Linked DNA regions of Homo sapiens: region 2 is linked to region 1. Evidence: promoter capture Hi-C in 16 types of primary human blood cells and fetal thymus (Javierre and others, 2016). All regions are on one chromosome and are shown on one strand. The core of a region is centred on a gene start or on the middle of the fragment in contact, and the rest is flanking DNA. Distances in the headings are between cores, read along the strand shown. Region 1 holds the start of ZMYND15 (zinc finger MYND-type containing 15). Region 2 holds the start of SPAG7 (sperm associated antigen 7).

Region 1 (5,446 bases), core at 774-3,273:
CCCGAGTCCTCCCCAGCCTCAGATACCAGATTTCTATACCGATGCAGCCGGGCATCTCCCACAGTAAGCTGTCGGGGCTTTCGGGGATCCCCAGAGCCCATGGGACAGGCCATGCTGTGACAGAGGAGAGCATAGGCCCAAGGAGCCAGGTCCTTGGTCCCTGAGCCCCAGCTTGCGGTTCCCTGGGCTCCATCCACTAGCAGATCAATGCCCAAGATGGTGCCATGCTCATCCGTCACAAGTAAGAGACAGGAAACGTGCAGGGGGGCAGCCTCTGGGGAAAGAGGGAAAAGTTGAGGTGGTAGGGGGCAGCGAGAGACAAATGTGGTCAGGGTCAGGAGTACCAAACTCAAATACCTACGGGGCTAGGCAAGTAACCTCACTGAGTAAAGGGCTCTGGGTAGAGAGGGCACGCTCCTTCTAAAGGGGACAGCTGCTACAGAGGACCAGAATGCGCTGCCATGCAGAAATGTAGGCCCACTGTCAGAGCTTGAGATTTTTCTTGGGAATGTGTAAATCCAGACTTCTGGATACTTTTTTTCTTGCAATGTTTAAACATTAAATTAAAAAAAAAAACCCCACTGTGGGTCAATAAAAACACCTTTTCAGGCCAGATTGGCCTGAAGGCCAGCACTCAGAACTAGTGGCAGGGGAGGGCTTCCGAAGGGAGGATGGCTGGGCAAGGGGTAGGGCAGGGCCAGCCCTGGGTTCTTACCACTCCTCTGTCCCTTCCTCTTCTGGGGTCTTGTTTCGTTCTCCACCCTGTCCTCTCGGCAGCCATCCTTGCCACCTCCTGCCTCCCGGGCAGCCTCCTCTGACTCTCCTGGAGGGTTTGTTTCCTGGGGGGACTCCCTGCTGGTAGGGGCTAGCTCCCGGTCCTCCTCTGGTTCCACCTTCTCTGTGCTGCCTGCACCCCCGTCCTCTCTCTTCTCTTCTTCTTCATCTTCCTCCTCTTCCTCCTCCCCTTCCTCCCCATCCTCTAGGCTGACAAAGCTGATGTAGGGGCTCAGGTCTCGCAGGTGGAGTGGAGGGTTGTCTCCCAGGAGCCAGGCAGTCCCCAGGCCTGGTCCAGGACCTGGTTCTGCCCCTTGCCCCAGGCTGATGCCCACACTATGGTTGGGCAGGACATGGAGCACCCAAAGGGCAGGGTCCTGGGGTAGCCTTCTGATCTGGGCCTCCAGCTGCCGGCAGCGGCCCTCAAGGCTAGTCCCTACAGCTCCACGCTCTGCCACAAACTTTCGGAACCAGCCGAAGAGAAGGGCAGTGAAATCAAGGAACTCATCCCGGTATCCAGACACAAACTCCATGTCTTCAGCGGCACAGGGCCCCGGCCCAGACTGAGCAAAAGAAGGGATATATGGTGAGGGACAGGAGAGCAATGATGGAGTTTGGGGCTGGGTCACAAATTGAGGGAGAGGGTAGGTTTGAGAGTCACTTAGGGTTGGATCCGTGGATATGCTAGGAGCGGAGAAGAGGATTTTTCAGGGCTGAGGATGGGAGTTTAGGGAGGAAAATGGGGGCTGGACTTGAAAGTGGGTGACCAGGGTTGGAGAAGACTACTCAGGGATGAGATGGTATTTGGGGCTTAAAATTGGAGAGTTCACACCCTCAAAAGCAGAGTTTAAATTAAGGCTAGAGAGGAGAGAGGGCTAATCCTATCGGGAACGGTTTGGTGGGGAGGGAAGCATTTTGGATGCGTCTGTGGGGTATGGGAGTGGGAGCGAGGGGGTTCCCTGGGCTCGGATCTGCGTGGCGGGCAGCCCCGGTAGACCTAGCCCCTCCCGGCCGCCCCACTCCTCCGGTACCTGCAGCCGCCACCACTTTTCGAAGGTAAATACCTCGCGGTGGAGGGTGCGCGGGTGCGGTTGTGACGTCAGGGCTGCCCGAGCCCTCGCCGGCTCAGCGGGCGGCCACGCCCCCCGGGCTCGGTGCGTCCGCGGGTGGCTGCCCCGCAGGTGCGCGCGGCCGGGGCTGGCGGCGACTCTCTCCACCGGGCCGCCCGGGAGGCTCATGCAGCGCGGCTGGGTCCCGCGGCGCCCGGATCGGGGAAGTGAAAGTGCCTCGGAGGAGGAGGGCCGGTCCGGCAGTGCAGCCGCCTCACAGGTCGGCGGACGGGCCAGGCGGGCGGCCTCCTGAACCGAACCGAATCGGCTCCTCGGGCCGTCGTCCTCCCGCCCCTCCTCGCCCGCCGCCGGAGTTTTCTTTCGGTTTCTTCCAAGATTCCTGGCCTTCCCTCGACGGAGCCGGGCCCAGTGCGGGGGCGCAGGGCGCGGGAGCTCCACCTCCTCGGCTTTCCCTGCGTCCAGAGGCTGGCATGGCGCGGGCCGAGTACTGAGCGCACGGTCGGGGCACAGCAGGGCCGGGGGGTGCAGCTGGCTCGCGCCTCCTCTCCGGCCGCCGTCTCCTCCGGTCCCCGGCGAAAGCCATTGAGACACCAGCTGGACGTCACGCGCCGGAGCATGTCTGGGAGTCAGAGCGAGGTGGCTCCATCCCCGCAGAGTCCGCGGAGCCCCGAGATGGGACGGGACTTGCGGCCCGGGTCCCGCGTGCTCCTGCTCCTGCTTCTGCTCCTGCTGGTGTACCTGACTCAGCCAGGTTAGCCGGGGGCGGGGCAGGGGACCCAGATTCCCCTGTCACGGGAAGGGGGTGAGTTGGGGAGGGGACACGAGGCCCACGGAGTTGAGTGGATGAAGGCAGCGGGGACAAGAGGAAAGCCAGCCAGCCGCCTGGGGTTGGGGACAGAGGCCCGGGGACGCCTGGCTCCGGGCGGGATTATGGATGTTGTCGGGGGCGTGATGATGTGTGGGTTGAGCCTGGCGCTCTGACCCTGGGTCCACCGAGAGGCTGTCATGGGGCTGTGGATTGGATGCCAGGGAACAGCGGAGTGGGGACCCTGGGCCTGGGAATGGGTGCCGACCACCTCCGTCCCGCGCAGGCAATGGCAACGAGGGCAGCGTCACTGGAAGTTGTTATTGTGGTAAAAGAATTTCTTCCGACTCCCCGCCATCGGTTCAGTTCATGAATCGTCTCCGGAAACACCTGAGAGCTTACCATCGGTGTCTATACTACACGAGGTAATTTTACCTGCCTCTGCGAGGGCAGCGCCTGGGCGGCCCCTCCTTGCAGGTGCCTCCAGGACCCTCTCTGGTCCAGCCTGAACTCCTTCCCGGCTCACCGAGCCCCATCTCCGGGTTCCGTTTGCTCTCATTCCCCGAAACTTCATGACTCCGTCTCACCTACTGGGGAGTTTCCCAGTCCCAGGAGAAAGGGCTCTTTCTTGGTGGCAACTTCACGCCTCTGGAATGAGGAAGGAGCCGGGGAAGGAAAGAAGGCGCCGCAGCTAAGCCCAGGTCTCTCCTCCGCAGGTTCCAGCTCCTTTCCTGGAGCGTGTGTGGGGGCAACAAGGACCCATGGGTTCAGGAATTGATGAGCTGTCTTGATCTCAAAGGTGAGACTTTTCCACTGCTCTTCAGGCTCTGCCTCCAGGGCTTAGCAGCTTCCACCTGACAGTTTTCTTTACCTGAGCCTTTTCCCCTGGGGCCGCACATTCCTAGAACCTTCTTCTGATCCTGTCCAAAGTACTTAGACTCGAGTCCCTGTTTGCCAAACGGGGTGATCATTCACCATCACCTTCATGAGTTTTGCCAATTCATTCTACCACGTGTGCTATTGTCTACTTATTAATATTTTTCTTGAAATCAAAGTACTATTTTATTTTATTTTTTTGAGATGGAGTCTCACTCTGTCACCCAGGCTGGAGTGCAGTGGCACGATCTTGGCTCACTGCAACCTCTGCCTCCCAGGTTCAAGAGATTCTCCTGCCTCAGCCTCCTGAGTAGCTGGGATTACAGGCGCGCACCACCAAGCCTGGCTAATTTTTGTATTTTTAGTAGAGACAGGGTTTCACCATGTTGGCCAGGCTGGTCTCGAACTCCTGGCCTTGTGATCCACCCGCCTCGGCCTCCAAAAGTGCTAGGATTACAGGCGTGAGCCACCACACCTGGCCTATTTTTCTTTTCCAATATTTTATTATGAAAATTTACACATATACAAAAGTTGAAAGAATGGCACACTGAATATCCAGTGCCTCCACCTAGATTCTACAATTTTATTTATATATGTATATTTTACATATTTACATAAACATATATTTTACACTATCAATTTTACAGCAATTACACGATATTTGCTTTATTAAGTATCCATCTATTCATTCTTCTATCCATCATCCATCACCTTATTTCTTGATGCATTTCTTTTTTTTTTTTTTTTTTTTTTTTAATGGAGTCTTGCTCTGTCGCCCAGGCTGGAGTGCAATGGTGCCCTCAGCTCACTGCAGCCTCCGCCTCCCAGGTTCAAGCAATTCTCCTGCCACAGCCTTCCGAGTAGCTGGGATTGCAGGTGCCCGCCACCATGCCCAGCTAATTTTTGTATTTTTTTAGTAGAGATGGGGTTTCACCGTGTTGGTCAGGCTGGTCTCAAACTCCTGACCTCAGGTGATCCACCTGCCTCAGCCTCCCAAAGTGCTGGGATTACAGGTGTGAACCGCAGTGCCCGGCCTCTTGATGCATTTCAAGGCAGATTGTGGACATCATTGCACTTCATCCCAAGACATTTCAGCATGTATATTAAGTAGAGTTCAATATTTTAATGCTTTTTTTTCTTTTGAGTTCAAATTTACATACAATGAAATGAATTACTTTTAAGTGTGCACAAACTAGTTTTGAAAACTTAAGTAGAGGCCAGGACGGTGGCTCACTCCTGTAATCCTAGCTCTTTGGGAGGTTGAGGCCGGTGGATCACCTGAGGTCAGGAGTTTGAGACCAGCCTGACCAACATGGTAAAACCCCATCTCTACTAAAAATACAAAATTAGCCAGGCATGGTGGCATGTGCCTGTAATTCCAGCTACTCAGGAGGTTGAGGCAGGAGAATCACTTGAACCTGGAGGCGGAGGTTGCAGTGAGCCGAGATCAGGCCATTGCACTCCAGCCTGGGCAACAAAAAAAAAGAAAGAAAACTTAAATAGTAAATTATCCTAAGCAATAATATCTGTGAAGTCACAAGTTTGATGCATTGGTTATATTTTTCTCTTAAAATAAATATACAACCATTAAAATACAAAAGGTTCTTCCATGTCCTAGCTAAAGTTTTGTAGGATCTGTGTCATCCATACTGCCTTTAAGTCTGCCTAGACCTCTATGATTTCCTTTCATCCTCCCAGGAACCCTGGCCCTTGGTACTACAATTATCCTCATTTTACAGCTGGAAGATATCACTTCCGGAGAGGTTAGGGACAAGGGGTGAGGTTACACAGCTACTTGAGGTTACACAGCTACTTTACAGCAGAGCTTGGAATCCAACCCTGGTCTTCTGATTTCCCAGTTCATGACACCCACTTGTCTCGTGGTTCGCTCACTTCCTTGTCCCCTACCTTTTCCGTCTGT
Region 2 (4,572 bases), core at 1,523-4,022, 230 kb before region 1:
ACCAGCCAGCCTCCGGCCTCTGTCTGCGGGGGCGGGGCGGGGCCTAGGCCAGCTGGAGGCCGCCATGCACCGCGGGCCTGGGATCTGCGCCCAGGCCAGGCGGGCCCAGGGTTTTCCGCCTCCGACGTGTTTCCGGCCTTAAAGGCATTCCGCCCTTCCCTTTAAGACGCACCGCCCCCTCTCAGTCACTCCCAAGATGGCGGACCTACTGGGCTCCATCCTGAGCTCCATGGAGAAGCCACCCAGCCTCGGTGACCAGGAGACTCGGCGCAAGGCCCGAGGTGAGGATCCCAAATTCACAACCGCCTTCCTTCGCCCGGTTCTCGGGACCATACTTCTCCCTCTTTGGACGATGCCGCCTCCTCAACCTTGAAAGACCCCTCACAGGCCCCTTCCGAGACCCTCAGAGTCCCTAAAAGGGCTGCTGACACGCCCGCTGTTCTTAGCGGACAGTGATTGGCTACCTGAAAGATAGCGCCAGCCTCCTGCCTCTTCTCCCGACCCTGGCCTTCCGCAGTCCTTGTTTCCCATTAGCCGGCCGTCCCGCCTGTCCGCTGCTGACCTGGTCTGATTGGTAGGGTGCCTCCAACCTGCCGCATTCCTGCCCCGCTCACCTCTAGCTCTATTTCGATTGGATTTAGGACACGCCATCTACTGTGCCTTCATCTCTATTGGCTATCTCAACTTAAAGCTCTGCCTCCTCAGGCCTGTTCGACCTTCCTTCGAAACCACCCCAGCCTGCGAATTCCCATTGGTTGCAGGGTCCTCTGTGTGTTCTTGCCCCTCCTGCTTAATTTAACCCAGTCCCTTCTGCCTCCCTCCGACAACCTTTTTCCCATCCGTAGCCTTAAATTCCCGAGCTGCCCGGGCGGATCGTAGTGTTGATTGGAGGGATGAGAATACCCGCCGGGTCCGATTGGCCACTGTCTCCGCCTGCGTTCTCGGAGTAGCTTCCCTGCGGGTGGGCTGGAGTTCGGCGGCCGGCGTAGGGCGCGGCCCTGCAGGGCGGTGGGAGCCTCCCCGGGGCTGCTCGTGTTGCAGCTTGGGATGATACTGGCGGAACGCAGGACCCCAACTCCCAAACCTGCGGACCTTGACCACGGACGAGCCCTGTCCCAGCTCCCCACGTGCCCCAGGGGGACCAGAGCAGGCAGGACGCCTTCCAAGTATTCAAGGGCCGCTGGTTGCCTACGCTTCGTCCCCTTGTTTCTTGAACAACCGTTAGGGACCAGGGGTACCCCTCAGGGAGGCCACAGTCCGGGGCTGGGGCGCTCATTGATGCAGTGATCACACGTAAGTTTAATAACCAACTTGATAAGTGCTCTGAGAGAAAAATAACTGTGAGAGCGGCCACCTGAGGTTCTCCCCCAATCTGCAGTGAGCCGAGATCAGAACAGGTAATTCCGTAAATGAGAGAGAGAAGCAAAGCGTTACAGGCAGAAGAGTCTATTTGAAATCTCTGAGAAAGGAGGAAGCATGATGGGAATGGGGAACTGGAATTCTCTAATGCTCCGATGACTGTCTAAGTGGGGGATCACCCGGCATTGACAGACTGGGAAGCTTAAATGAGTCACTCGCCTGAGGTCACATGGTTAGTTTGGTAAGTGGCAGGGTTTCAAACCCAGGTATGACTGGGCTCGAAGCCTATGTTCTTGACCATAATCTTGTGCCACTTCTCTAGATGCAGAGAAGACTCGAAAACCAGTTAAAGAACAGTCAGTGGGGCCCGGCCTTGTAGCTCACACCTTTAATACCACCACTTTGGGAGGCCGCGGCGGACGGATCGCTTGAGCCCAGGAGTTCAAGACCAGTCTGGGCAACATGGAGAAACCCCATCTCTACAAAAAATACAAAAATTGGCCGGGCTCACGCCTGTAATCCCAAAACTTTGGGAGGCCAAGGCGGGCAGATCACGAGATCAAGAGATCGAGAGCATCCTGGCCAACATGGTGAAACCCCGTCTCTACTAAAAATACGAAAATTAGCTGGGCGTGGTGGCGCGTGCCTGTAGTCCCAGCTACTCAGGAGGCTGGGGCAGGAGAATCAGTTGAACCCAGGAGGAGGAGGTTGCAGTGAGCCGAGATTGCGCCACTGTACTCCAGCCTGGCGACAGAGCGAGACTCCGTCTCATAAATAAATAAATAAATAGATAAATAAATAAATAAATAAATAAACATTAGCTGGGCTTGGTGGCGCGCTCCTATGGTCCCAATTCTCGGGAGGCTGAGGTGGGAGAATCGCTTGAGTCTGGGAGGTTGAAGCTGCAGTGAGAGGTGATTGCGCCACTGCACTCCATTTTGGGCGATGAAGTTGAGACTGTTTCCAACAACAAAAGATGAAATGCGCTGATGGTCAGTGAGGACAGAGGGATGAGAGCTCATAAGCTGTCAGGCCCTGGGGCTCCAGAGGATAACTGAACAGTAGATCAACAGGGTCCCTGCCCTCCAGGAGCTCATACTATGCTGAAGGAGACAAAAAAAAAAGAAGTTATGATACGTTAGTTCTCTGTCTATGCTGCTGGGTGTCTCAGCCAAAGGAGCTTGGAGCCCAGGGGAAGAAGTAACTGACTCACGGTAGATCTCAATGTTTGCAAGAGGAGGAAAAGCATTCCAAGCAGAGGAACAACGTGTGCAAAGGCATGGAGTTATTTGAAAAATGGGGAGAGGGCTCATGCCTATAATCCCAGCACTTTGGGAGGCTGAGGCGGGCAGATCACTTGAGGTCAGGAGTTCAAAACCAGGCTGGCCAACATGGCGAAACATCGTCTCTACGAAAAATACAAAAAAATGGGCGGGCGTGGTGGCTCACGCCTGTAATCCCAACACTTTGGGAGGCTGAGGCGGGCGGATCACCTGACGTCGGGAGTTCGAGACCAGCCTGACCAACATGGAGAAGAAAGCCCATCTCTACTAAAAATGAAAAAATTAGCCAGGTGTAGTGGCACATGCCTGTGATCCCAGCTACTCGGGAGGCTGAGGCAGGAGAATCACTTGAACCCGGGAGGCAGAGGTTGCAGTGAGCCAAGATTGCACCATTGCACTCCAGCCTGGGCAAAGAGAGCGAAACTCCATCTCAAAAAAAGAAAAAGAAAAAAAAAATTAGCCGGGTGTGGTGGTTCACACCTGTAATCCCAGCTACTCGGGAGGCTGAGGCATGAGAATCACTGGAACCCGGGAGGCAGAGGTTGCAGTGAGCCGAGATCGCGCCACTGCACTCCAGCCTGGGCACACAGCGAGACTCTGTCTCGAAATAAATAAATAAATGATGGGGAGAGGTTCAGTGCAGCTGGAGAGGATTCAGATCCTGGGGAAGAAGGAGGCCTTAAAGATGTAAAGGATTTGGCCGGGTGCGGTGGCTCACGCCTATAATCCCAGCACTTTGGGAGGCCGAGGCGGGTGGATCATGAGGTCAGGAGATCAAGACCATCCTGGCTAAAACGGTGAAACCTTGTCTCCACTAAAAATACAAAAAATTCTCCAGGCGTGGTGGCGGGCGCCTGTAGTCCCAGCTACTTGGGAGGCTGAGGCAGGAGAATGGCGTGAACCCGGGAGGCGGAGCTTGCAGTGAGCGGAGATTGCGCCACTGCACTCCAGCCTGGGCGACAGAGCGAGACTCCGTCTCAAAAAAAAAAAAAAAAAAAAAAGATGTAAAGGATTTGAAATGGCAAAAGAGAAAAAAATTTCAGGCTGAGGAGCAGGAGTAGGAAGAAGCATGCACCCAAATCTCTAGAGGTAGTAAAATCACATCGTGGGGAAGACAGGCAAGCATGGAGGGCCCGGGTTAGAAATTCTTCCTCCTCCTCCAGAGGCAGAGGGGATCTGGCGCAGAGGCAGGATCTAAGGAAGAGGAAGAAAGTTAAATAAGACCCTTAGCCAGGCGAGGGGACTCACAGCTGAAATCCCAGCACTTTGGGAGGCTGGTCTTGAACTCCCAGCCTCAAGTGATCCTCCCACCTCGGCCTCTCAAATTGCTTGAGAAGCTTGAGTCTCTGCACCCAGACCTGGCTAATTTTTTTAAAAAAAGTTTTCTGTAAAGATGGGGTCTCGGGCATCTTCAGGCAAGAGGCAGGCAGATACCTTGAGCCCAAGAGTTCAGAAAAAGAAGACCCTTCACAGCTAACCTTGGACACCTACACTCCCAAAGGAGAAGGGTGTCAGATTATCTATTTCAGCTTCATCCTGTCTATAGAAGTGGGAAGTGGGGGATTTTACAAAATATAGAAAGTTAAATAATTTCCCCTTTCCAGCTGGGCACGGTGGCTCAAGCCTGTAATCCTGGCACTTTGGGAGGCCGAGGCAGGTGGATCACAAGGTCAGGAGTTCGAGACCAGCCTGGCCAATATGGTGAAACCCCATCTCTACTAAAAATACAAAAATTAGCTGGGCGTGGTGGCACATGCCTATAGTCCCAGCTACTCAGGAGGCTGAGGCAGAAGAATCGCTTGAACCCAGGAGGCGGAGGTTGCAGTGAGCCAAGATCGTGCCACTGCACTCCAGCCTGGGCGACAAAGCGAGATTCCATCTCAAAAAAAAAAAAAAAAAAAAAAAAATTCCCCTTTCCTGTGTAAACGAG

What was found. Contacts are between HindIII fragments. The CHiCAGO score rates a contact against its expected background, and 5 or more counts as called.
Region 2: a fragment that was not itself captured here is called in contact with the fragment with the promoter of ZMYND15 in region 1 in 3 of 17 cell types (M0 macrophages, monocytes and M1 macrophages); the score reaches 9.8 in M0 macrophages.

The regions. Positions count from the first base shown.
Region 1 is chr17:4,736,410-4,741,855 of GRCh38, reverse strand. It overlaps ZMYND15 (zinc finger MYND-type containing 15), which reads right to left and starts at 2,023. Exons shown (of 14, transcript NM_001136046.3): 1 at 1,806-2,023; 2 at 716-1,337; 3 at 40-274. The coding sequence starts at 1,307. CXCL16 (C-X-C motif chemokine ligand 16) reads left to right here and starts at 1,928. Exons shown (of 6, transcript NM_001386809.1): 1 at 1,928-2,595; 2 at 2,936-3,074; 3 at 3,366-3,448. The coding sequence starts at 2,517. RefSeq lists a silencer at 1,837-2,056 and enhancers at 1,605-2,509, 2,510-3,415. The HindIII fragment of the contact is 8,207 bases long and covers 1-5,446 here.
Region 2 is chr17:4,963,429-4,968,000 of GRCh38, reverse strand. It overlaps SPAG7 (sperm associated antigen 7), which reads left to right and starts at 184. Exons shown (of 7, transcript NM_004890.3): 1 at 184-281. The coding sequence starts at 197. It overlaps LOC124900387 (a long non-coding RNA gene), which reads left to right and starts at 288. Exons shown (of 2, transcript XR_007065587.1): 1 at 288-1,600; 2 at 1,682-2,179. It overlaps CAMTA2 (calmodulin binding transcription activator 2), which reads left to right. Exons shown (of 23, transcript NM_015099.4): 23 at 1-4. RefSeq lists a silencer at 1-38 and enhancers at 1-461, 49-548, 462-1,139, 1,818-2,495. The HindIII fragment of the contact is 2,419 bases long and covers 1,563-3,981 here.